Regions from separate parts of the Homo sapiens genome. Here region 2 is linked to region 1. The links are contacts of gene promoters, found by promoter capture Hi-C in human tissues and cell types (Jung and others, 2019). All regions are on one chromosome and are shown on one strand. The core of a region is centred on a gene start or on the middle of the fragment in contact, and the rest is flanking DNA. Distances in the headings are between cores, read along the strand shown. Region 1 holds the start of TMEM119 (transmembrane protein 119). Region 2 has its middle 37 kb from the start of CORO1C.

Region 1 (3,898 bases), core at 955-3,454:
GCCTAGGAGAGAGCTTTTGTGGCAACAACTACCACTTCTCACTGCAGAGGGCAGCTGGGACCATGGGTGGCTGGAGACCCACTCAAGTTCTGGCTGGGTCAAGAATCCCGGCTCCATCGCATCCAGCTCTGTGGTCTGGCTCCTGTGGGCCTCACTTTCCCCATCCGTAAGTTGGGACAGGGTGACCACAGGTAGCACCTCTCAGAGCTGTTAGGGCCAAATGAGACAACTTTCAGAGAGTGCCTGGTGCGAAGTAGCTGAGCCCCGAGGAAAGATAGGGTCTGGGGTAGCTGAATTCCTTCCCTAGCCGAACTCCAGGTTCAGCCAGCAATTTCCCACCCTGAGTCGACAAATGAGCACCATCGCCGGATGGGAACATGCGCTCACTGTCTGGTCCGGCCGCCACCCAGTGAAAGACCAACCTTTTCACCCCGTTCAGTGAAACCTCTTTAGCTCTGGCCGCCAAGGAATGCAGAACCAAACACACACATGCACACACATACACATACACACACATGCACACATACACCTACACACACATATACATACAACACACACACACACACACACACGAAGTCAGAGGCAGAGGGCAAGAAAGGAGAACACACAAACTGCCACTGGCTCTTTAAGGCTGAGACCCTGACTCTCAGAGTCCCCTGCACCCCACAACCCCTCCTGGCTTCCAGGGAAAGGTGGGGGCAACGTATGGAGGACCCAGCCCCACCTGCAGTCAGCAGAGCCTCAAAAAAGATGGTTGTGTGGCCCTGGACGGCCCCTGCCCTCTCTGGGCCTCAGTTTCCCATCTGTGGAATGAAGCACTGTTCTGGGCAGCTCTGAAGTCATTATTCTGCCTACCTCCCCCCGGACCCTAATTTTTTCAAGGACTCAGAATCTAACAGGCCATTAGGAGCTGGGGTCAGGCCCAACGCCTCTTGCTTCACCTTAGAGGTAACTCAGGTCCAGAGACTGGAAACAGCCTGCCCAGGTCACACAGAAAGTCAGGGGTGAGCCCAGCAGAGCCCTGGACAGAGAAGCCTGTCTTGGTATATCCCAGAGGAGGTCACTTCCCGGCTATGTGTCCTTGGGCTGGGCATGTCACCTCTCTGAGCCTCGGTTTCCATATCTGTACAATGGGGATAAGAGCCACCTCCCTGGACTGCTGTTAGGACAAGATGCGGCCATGCCTGGTGCACAGTGGGTGCCAATTAGCAGGTACCACGTGATTGCCCAGGACTCCCTGCCTGGGGACATGTCAGGCAGGGCTGGCCGTGTGTAAGTGTGGCAAATGCCCTAAGATGGTCCTGAGTCTGTGGAGGAGTGCAGATGCACCCCTGAGGCCTGGGGGCCCCAAGACTTGAAGCTAGGGGACCGGGGGCTGCCCCACCCCCACCCAGAGACTGGTGGCCTTTGGGGGAGGGGCGGCCCACGGAAACCTGGCTTCAATCAGTGGCCTTGTGGGGGAGGGGTGTTCTGGTTGGAGCACTGCACATGCCCCCGACCCCAGGGCCAGCCAAGGACAGGGACCTGGGCCCTGGAGGTCTGGATGGGGAGGGGGGTCCTGGGGGCACAATCCCCCTCCACACACACACACACACACAGAGCAGCATGGACACACAATATAAAGACACACAACACAGGCACACCGACTCACACAGCACTGAGACACCCAACAGCACTCTCATGGCCCATGCACACAATACACAGAGAACACACACGGACACACAACACATATACATACACAACCCCCTGACACACAGCCGATCCCTGCACACAGGACAATACCGTCCACATCACCCTCACACAGATCCTGGAAGCAACAGCCTGGCATCCACTTGCAGAAAAGTGGAAGCAACACACCCCCTACACCAAGGCCCCAGCCGCACACACACAACACTCCGGCCCACCCTGGCCCACCCCAGCACCGCACACGGGACTCAGATTCCACCACACTCATGCACACAACACCAAACACACACTCAAAGCCCACACACACTTAGAGAGGCCCCCCAGAGTGCTCCAACAGTCCCCAGTCCCTAAGCTCCAAGATAGCTCCAGGCTCTCAGGACAGAGGAGGGGACCCCAGGACTCACCAGTTCCTTGGCGTACAGGACTGGGTGCTCCCGCCGAATGGAGCGAGAGTGGGGGGCACCTGGGCTGGAAGAGAGAGTCCGTGCTGGTGCCCGGGGCTGCTCTGGGCTGGCGCCTGCCCGCCCTCCCTCCTCCCGTCCCTCCTCCCGTCCCTCCTCCTTCCTCCCTCCCCGGCTGGGCCGCAGGGCCAGCTTGATTTCATTAAGAGGGTTTGGGGTGGGGACAGGGGGAGGGGAGGGGCTACTCTCGGGCCACACGCAATCCCACCCTTGCTCACACTCTCGCTCTGGGGAAGACCAGATGCGGCACTTCCTCCCTGACCTCGGGTCCCCAGGGCAGGCTGAGACAGACAGACAAGGCTGTCCTGCAGCGCTCCCCCAGACAGTGAGCTGGGGTTCTGCCCACGCTGCTGCCCAATACCCTCCAAAGGGGACAAGCTCAGGGAGGTTCAGAGGCCTCTGGAAGTGGGAAGGAAAATTCCCCGTCCTTGTGTGGCTCAGGCTTCCAGGCTCAGGGTGCAGCGTGGGAGCTGGGATTCGTTTTAGAGACAGGCCTGATGGTGGGTCCGAGCCTGAGACAGGGAGCCCAACTCTGCCCTTCCCTCTCCAGACCTCAGTTTCCCATTTGTAGGGATGGGTGGGAAGCTTTCTGGGCTACCTCTGACTCTGATGTTCTGGGATCTGTGGCCTCACAATGCCCCCAAATGATAGTAGCTTGAATAGGAGTTGGAGCCCCATTTCACAGAGGGGGAAAGTGAGGCAGGGTGAGTTCTAATGGTTCAAGCAGGGTCCTGAGGTGAGTCAGTGGCAGGCCTTGGAACCGGGACGTCTGGCTGACCTGAGGAGTCCTGTGGATTAGCAGCCCCTTGCATTCATTCATTCATTCATTCATTCATGCATTCATTCGGCAAGTGCTCAATGAACACCTGCAGCAGGCCACGCACTGTGCTAAGCAAGTTCCAGAGGTGAATCAGGCACAGCCCAGCCTTGGGGAGCTCACAGACTACCAGGGAGAAGGACACCGAGGTAAATTACTTTTTTGCCAAACAGAAAGGGGTCAGGTCAAGGGCTCCGAGAACCCCAAGACAGAGAGATCAATCCCCCAAGGGAAAGAGGTAGGAAGCCATCCTGGAGGGCATGCCTGTGTATGAGCAGAAGCGGGCAAAGCAGGCCCTGGAAAGGCATTCCGCATGGAAGGACCAGCGTGGGTAAAGGTATGGTGGCTGGGAATGCCACCACGCACAAGCCACCGCAATTAGATTAGGCTGGAGCATGGACCAAAGAGAGGATCATGTAGTAAGGGTCAGAGATGTTGACAGGAGCCAGGCTAAAGTCTCGGAAGGTCGGAGGCAGTACGGAGCCAGTGAGGGTTTGGAACAGGGGAGTGCATGAAGGATGAGTGCGTGCTCTCTGGGTAGGAACCAAGCCTAGATTATCATTGTTCCCTGCAATGGTCCCAGCAGCCCTCGCTCACCCCCAGAAAACTGGGACAGTCATTTGCTTGGGAAATAAAATCAGAGACTTTCCCATCTTCTCTGGAAATCACCCCAAACCCTGCATCTTCGAGGGAACAGGGGACCATCCACCAATACTCGCACAGACACATTCATGCACACACATGTCCCAGGGGCAAGTGGCCACCCACAGACATGTTGTAGCAGCTGTGCCCGCTTTAAGGTGGCCAGGGGTGTTCCAGGCCTACCTGACCTGTCTTAGACCAGACATCGGGTGGTCAGGGGCAGCCAAACCTCCCCCAGGGCCCACCAGCAGGGGAAGAAGACCTTACCCAACATTCTGAGGGCTGCAGTCTG
Region 2 (3,898 bases), core at 918-3,417, 170 kb after region 1:
CCCTGCGTGAACGCTAGCACTGTGCTGTCTACAGAACTTTCTGCAATGCTGGAAATGTTCTCTATCTGTGCTGTCCAATAGGGTAGCCACAAGTAGCCATTGAGCACTTAAAACAGGGCACGTGTGACAAGGGAACAGAATTTCTCATTTAGTTTTATTTAAATTAATTTATTTAATTAACTGTTTTAATATTTAATTTATTTAAATTATTTTAGTTTTATTTAAATTTATTTAACTAGCGGCTGCCACATGGGACAGTGCAGCTCTAGAGGGAAAAGCTGACCACATCCTTTGCAGTTTGCAGCCCCTCCTTGGCTCCCCAGAGCCCTCAGGGTCAAGTCCAATGACCTACAAGGCCTGGCATGGTCTGCGTCCCGCCCACTGCCCCAGCTGGCTCTCCACCTGTGACACTGGTTGCTTAGAGTTTGTGGAAGCCAGGGCGCTCACCTCTACCTCCGGGCCTTTGCACCAGTTCTTTTTTTGTTTTTTGAGACTGAGTCTCACTCTGTCTCCCAGGCTAGAGTGCAGTGGCGCGATCTCAGCTCACTGCAACCTCCACCTCCTGGGTTCAAGCAATTCTCATGCCTCAGCCTCACGAGTAGCTGGGATTACAGACACCTGCCACCACGCCTGGCTAATTTTTGTACTTTTAGTAGAGATGGGGTTTCCCCATGTTGGCCAGGCTGGTCTCGAACTCCTGAACCTCAAGTGATCCGCCTGCCTCGGCCTCCCAAAGTGCTGGGATACAGGTGTGAGGTGAGCCACCACACCTGGCCCACCAGTTCTTCTTTTTTTTTTTTTTTTTTTTGAGATGGAGTCTTGCTCTGTCACCAGGCTAGAGTGCAGTGGTGTGATCTCGGCTCACTGCAACCTCTGCCTCCCGGGTCCAAGTGATTCTCCTGCCTCAGCCTCCCAAGTAGCTAGGACTACAGGCTTGCACCACCACGCCCAGCTAATTTTTTTTTTTCCTATTTTTAGTAGAGATGGGTTTCACATTGTGGCCAGGATGGTCTCCATCTCTTGACCTTGTGATCCGCCCACCTCTGCCTCCCAAAGTGCTGGGATTACAGGCATGAGCCACCGCACCTGGCCTCGCCCATCAGTTCTTTAGTCTGGTAGGAACACTCCCACACCCAATTCCCCACACAACCCCCATTTCTTCTCACTCTTTCACGCCCAATCCAGGGGTCCCTGTTGGACTTCTGTGATGGGGGCCCTCCTCCGTTCCATTTGGAAGCTTTGGGTCATGGCATGAGGCTATACCAGTGATGCCCTGTCCACATCAGCTGAGAGGTGTTCCCCAGGGATCGCCGAAGATCCTTCAGGGCAGTGGCCTCAGAGAGCTGATGGGTGGCACCGACAAGAGGTAGGACCCCTGGCCATTCCTGCTGAGAATCCAGCCTGTGTGGCTTTCATGGAGACGATCTGCATTATTAGCAGAAAAAAGCACGGGGCTTTAAAGTCAGACAGGCCTGGAAGGAGGGTGGAGGTTCAAATCCCATTTCTGCAACTTGAACCCACTCACTATAAGCTCAGTTTTTTGTTGTTGTTGTTGTTGTTTTTGAGACAAGAGTCTTGTTCTGTCTCCCAGGCTGGAGTGCAATGGCACGATCTCGGCTCACTGCAACTTCCACCTCCTGGGTTCACGCGATTCTCCTGCCTCAGCCTGCAGAGTAGCTGGAATTACAGGTGCCTTCCACCACGCCTGGCTAATGTTTGTATTTTTAGTAGAGACGGGGTTTTACCATGTTGGCCAGGCTGATCACAAACTCCCAACCTCAAGTGATCCGCCCACCTCGGCCTCCCAAAGTGCTGGGATTACAGGCGTGAGCCATCGTGCCCGGCCTCAGTTTTCATTTCAATAAAATGGAGTAACAGCATTTCCCGGGGAGGATTCTTGTAAGAGTTAGATATTGTAACCCTAGAAGTAGCTCCGTAGCTAGTTTTTTTAGGGAAAGGGAAAAGATTTGTATGGCCCAGATGCTGTCCTTATAATCCCACAGGTGGAGCCCTCCTCCCACAGAAATGAGGTCTTGTCTTCAGTTTTAAGAGTGAAAAACCAAAGTCCAATCTCTTTATCTCTGGTGGCAGAGATAAAGAAACTGAGGGTCAGAGAGGGCCAGGAGTTTGTCAGAAACCACAGGGCAAGTGGACAGCAATACTGAGAATGCAGACCCACGGATGCCCCCCGGGATAACTGTGCCTAGAATCTGTGGGTCCAATGGAGGGAAGAAAGCCCCCGAAAGGCGCTCACCTTTTCGGATGGGGTTTTCTGCCTTCTTCCTGTTGGACCTTGGGACTGGCCGGTCCCCTCTAGGGGAATCGGAGGCAGAGGCGCCTCCCGGAGTCCCCTGCGGGGCGCTCTGGAGCCTGTGCACCTGGAGGCCGGCAGACACTCCGGGCCTGCAGCGGGGACCCTCGGAGCTGGAGAGCTCCAGGAGGTGCAGGCAGCGCGCCACCTCCTCCAGACGGTACACGACGGGGCGTCGCGCCTCCAGGGCTAGGCCGGGCGGATGGAGGGGGTCCCCGGAGCCCGGGGGAAGTGGCGCAGTGGGCGTCTGCATCGGCCCGAAGGCACTTGCGCAGAGGTCCGGCAGGCAGCAGAGCACCTTGTGGGCGTGGTCGCTGGAGGCAGCGCCTGGCACCCCCATCTGGCACAGAGCGTCCCTGCCCTGCCCCCTGGGGCTGCGGAGGCCACCTCCACGCCCATTTGCCATCCCTGAGCCGCTTCTGCGACCTGTGGGGGTGGGGCGAGGGTGACTGGGCTTTCTCTTCCCCTTTCTTTGGAAGTTTCTATGACATCCCAAGCCCAAGAGCTGCTGGCATTGTGTCCTCCTCTCACCTGTCATCTGGGGGTCGGGGAGACAGACTGAACTCACCAAACCACAGAGCTCGCTGTGCACCCCTGAATGGGACACTATCTCTTCCTTCATTCAACAGACAGATCTGGGGCTGGGGTCAAGAGCCTCCCTCTTCCCATTGTGTGCTTAGGCAACTCTCTGAACCTCAGTTTTCTCATCTGTAAAATGGGAATGCTAAGAATAATACCATTTTAATAGTGTTTTCAGGATTAATAAGAAAACAACCAAAGTGTTTGGCATCCCGGAGGCCTGCAGCAAAGGGGCTGTTTCTGGTTTTGTTTTGTTTTGTTTTGAAACAGGGTCTCACTCTGTCACCCAGGTTGGAGTGCAGTGGAGCTGTGCAGCGGCGTGATCTCGGCTCACTGCAGTCTCTGCCTCCCAAGTTCAAGTGATTCTCCTGCCTCAGCTTCCTGAGTAGCTGGAATTATAGGTGTGCTGCATGCCCGGACATTTTTTGGATTTCTAGTAGAGAGGGGGTTTCACCATGTTGGCCAGGCTGGTCTCAAACTCCTGACCTCAAGTGATCCGCCTGCCTCGGCCTCCCAAAGTGCTGGGATTACAGGCGTGAGCCACAGCCCCCAGCTGGGGCTGTTTTTGTTGAACCCTTCCTCCACCCCTACCTTCCTGCCCCCTCAGCCCAAGGGAACCCCCTGCCTGGTCCACCCAGGAGCCCATCCCTGCTGAGCTTTGGGTTGAGCAGGGAGAATGGCTAAGGCCGAAGCTGGAACCAGCAAGAGACAGGCTCTGTGACCTTGGACAAGTAACTGCCTCTCTCTGGGCCTCAGTTTCCCCATCTGTAGAAGACAGGTGCTATACTGCAACAAGTCAGAGGGGCAGCAATGACCGGTACATTTATGGAGCACTTACTGTATGCTTCATGCTTCACCTGCTTCCTAACAACCTTATGAGGCCACCAGCCCCACGGTACAGGAAGCAAGGCTCAAAGAGGTGGAGCGAGGCGTCTACGGTCATACAGCTATAAGTAGGGTTGGTAGACTTGAACCCCAGCTCTCCTTTCTGAGTAGCATGTTCCCCTG

Evidence for each region. The method cuts DNA at HindIII sites, captures the fragments that hold promoters and counts their contacts. A contact is called where the count stands out against the background at its distance.
Region 2: a contact is called between a fragment that was not itself captured here and the fragment with the promoter of TMEM119 in region 1, in 2 of the 25 tissues and cell types used here (bladder and spleen).

The regions. Positions count from the first base shown.
Region 1 is chr12:108,595,880-108,599,777 of GRCh38, forward strand. It overlaps TMEM119 (transmembrane protein 119), which reads right to left and starts at 2,205. Exons shown (of 2, transcript NM_181724.3): 1 at 2,091-2,205. The HindIII fragment of the contact is 8,836 bases long and covers 1-3,898 here.
Region 2 is chr12:108,766,310-108,770,207 of GRCh38, forward strand. No RefSeq gene overlaps it. Among named protein-coding and RNA genes, the nearest start is that of CORO1C, 37 kb to the left of the region's middle. RefSeq lists a silencer at 2,441-2,510. The HindIII fragment of the contact is 6,877 bases long and covers 1-3,898 here.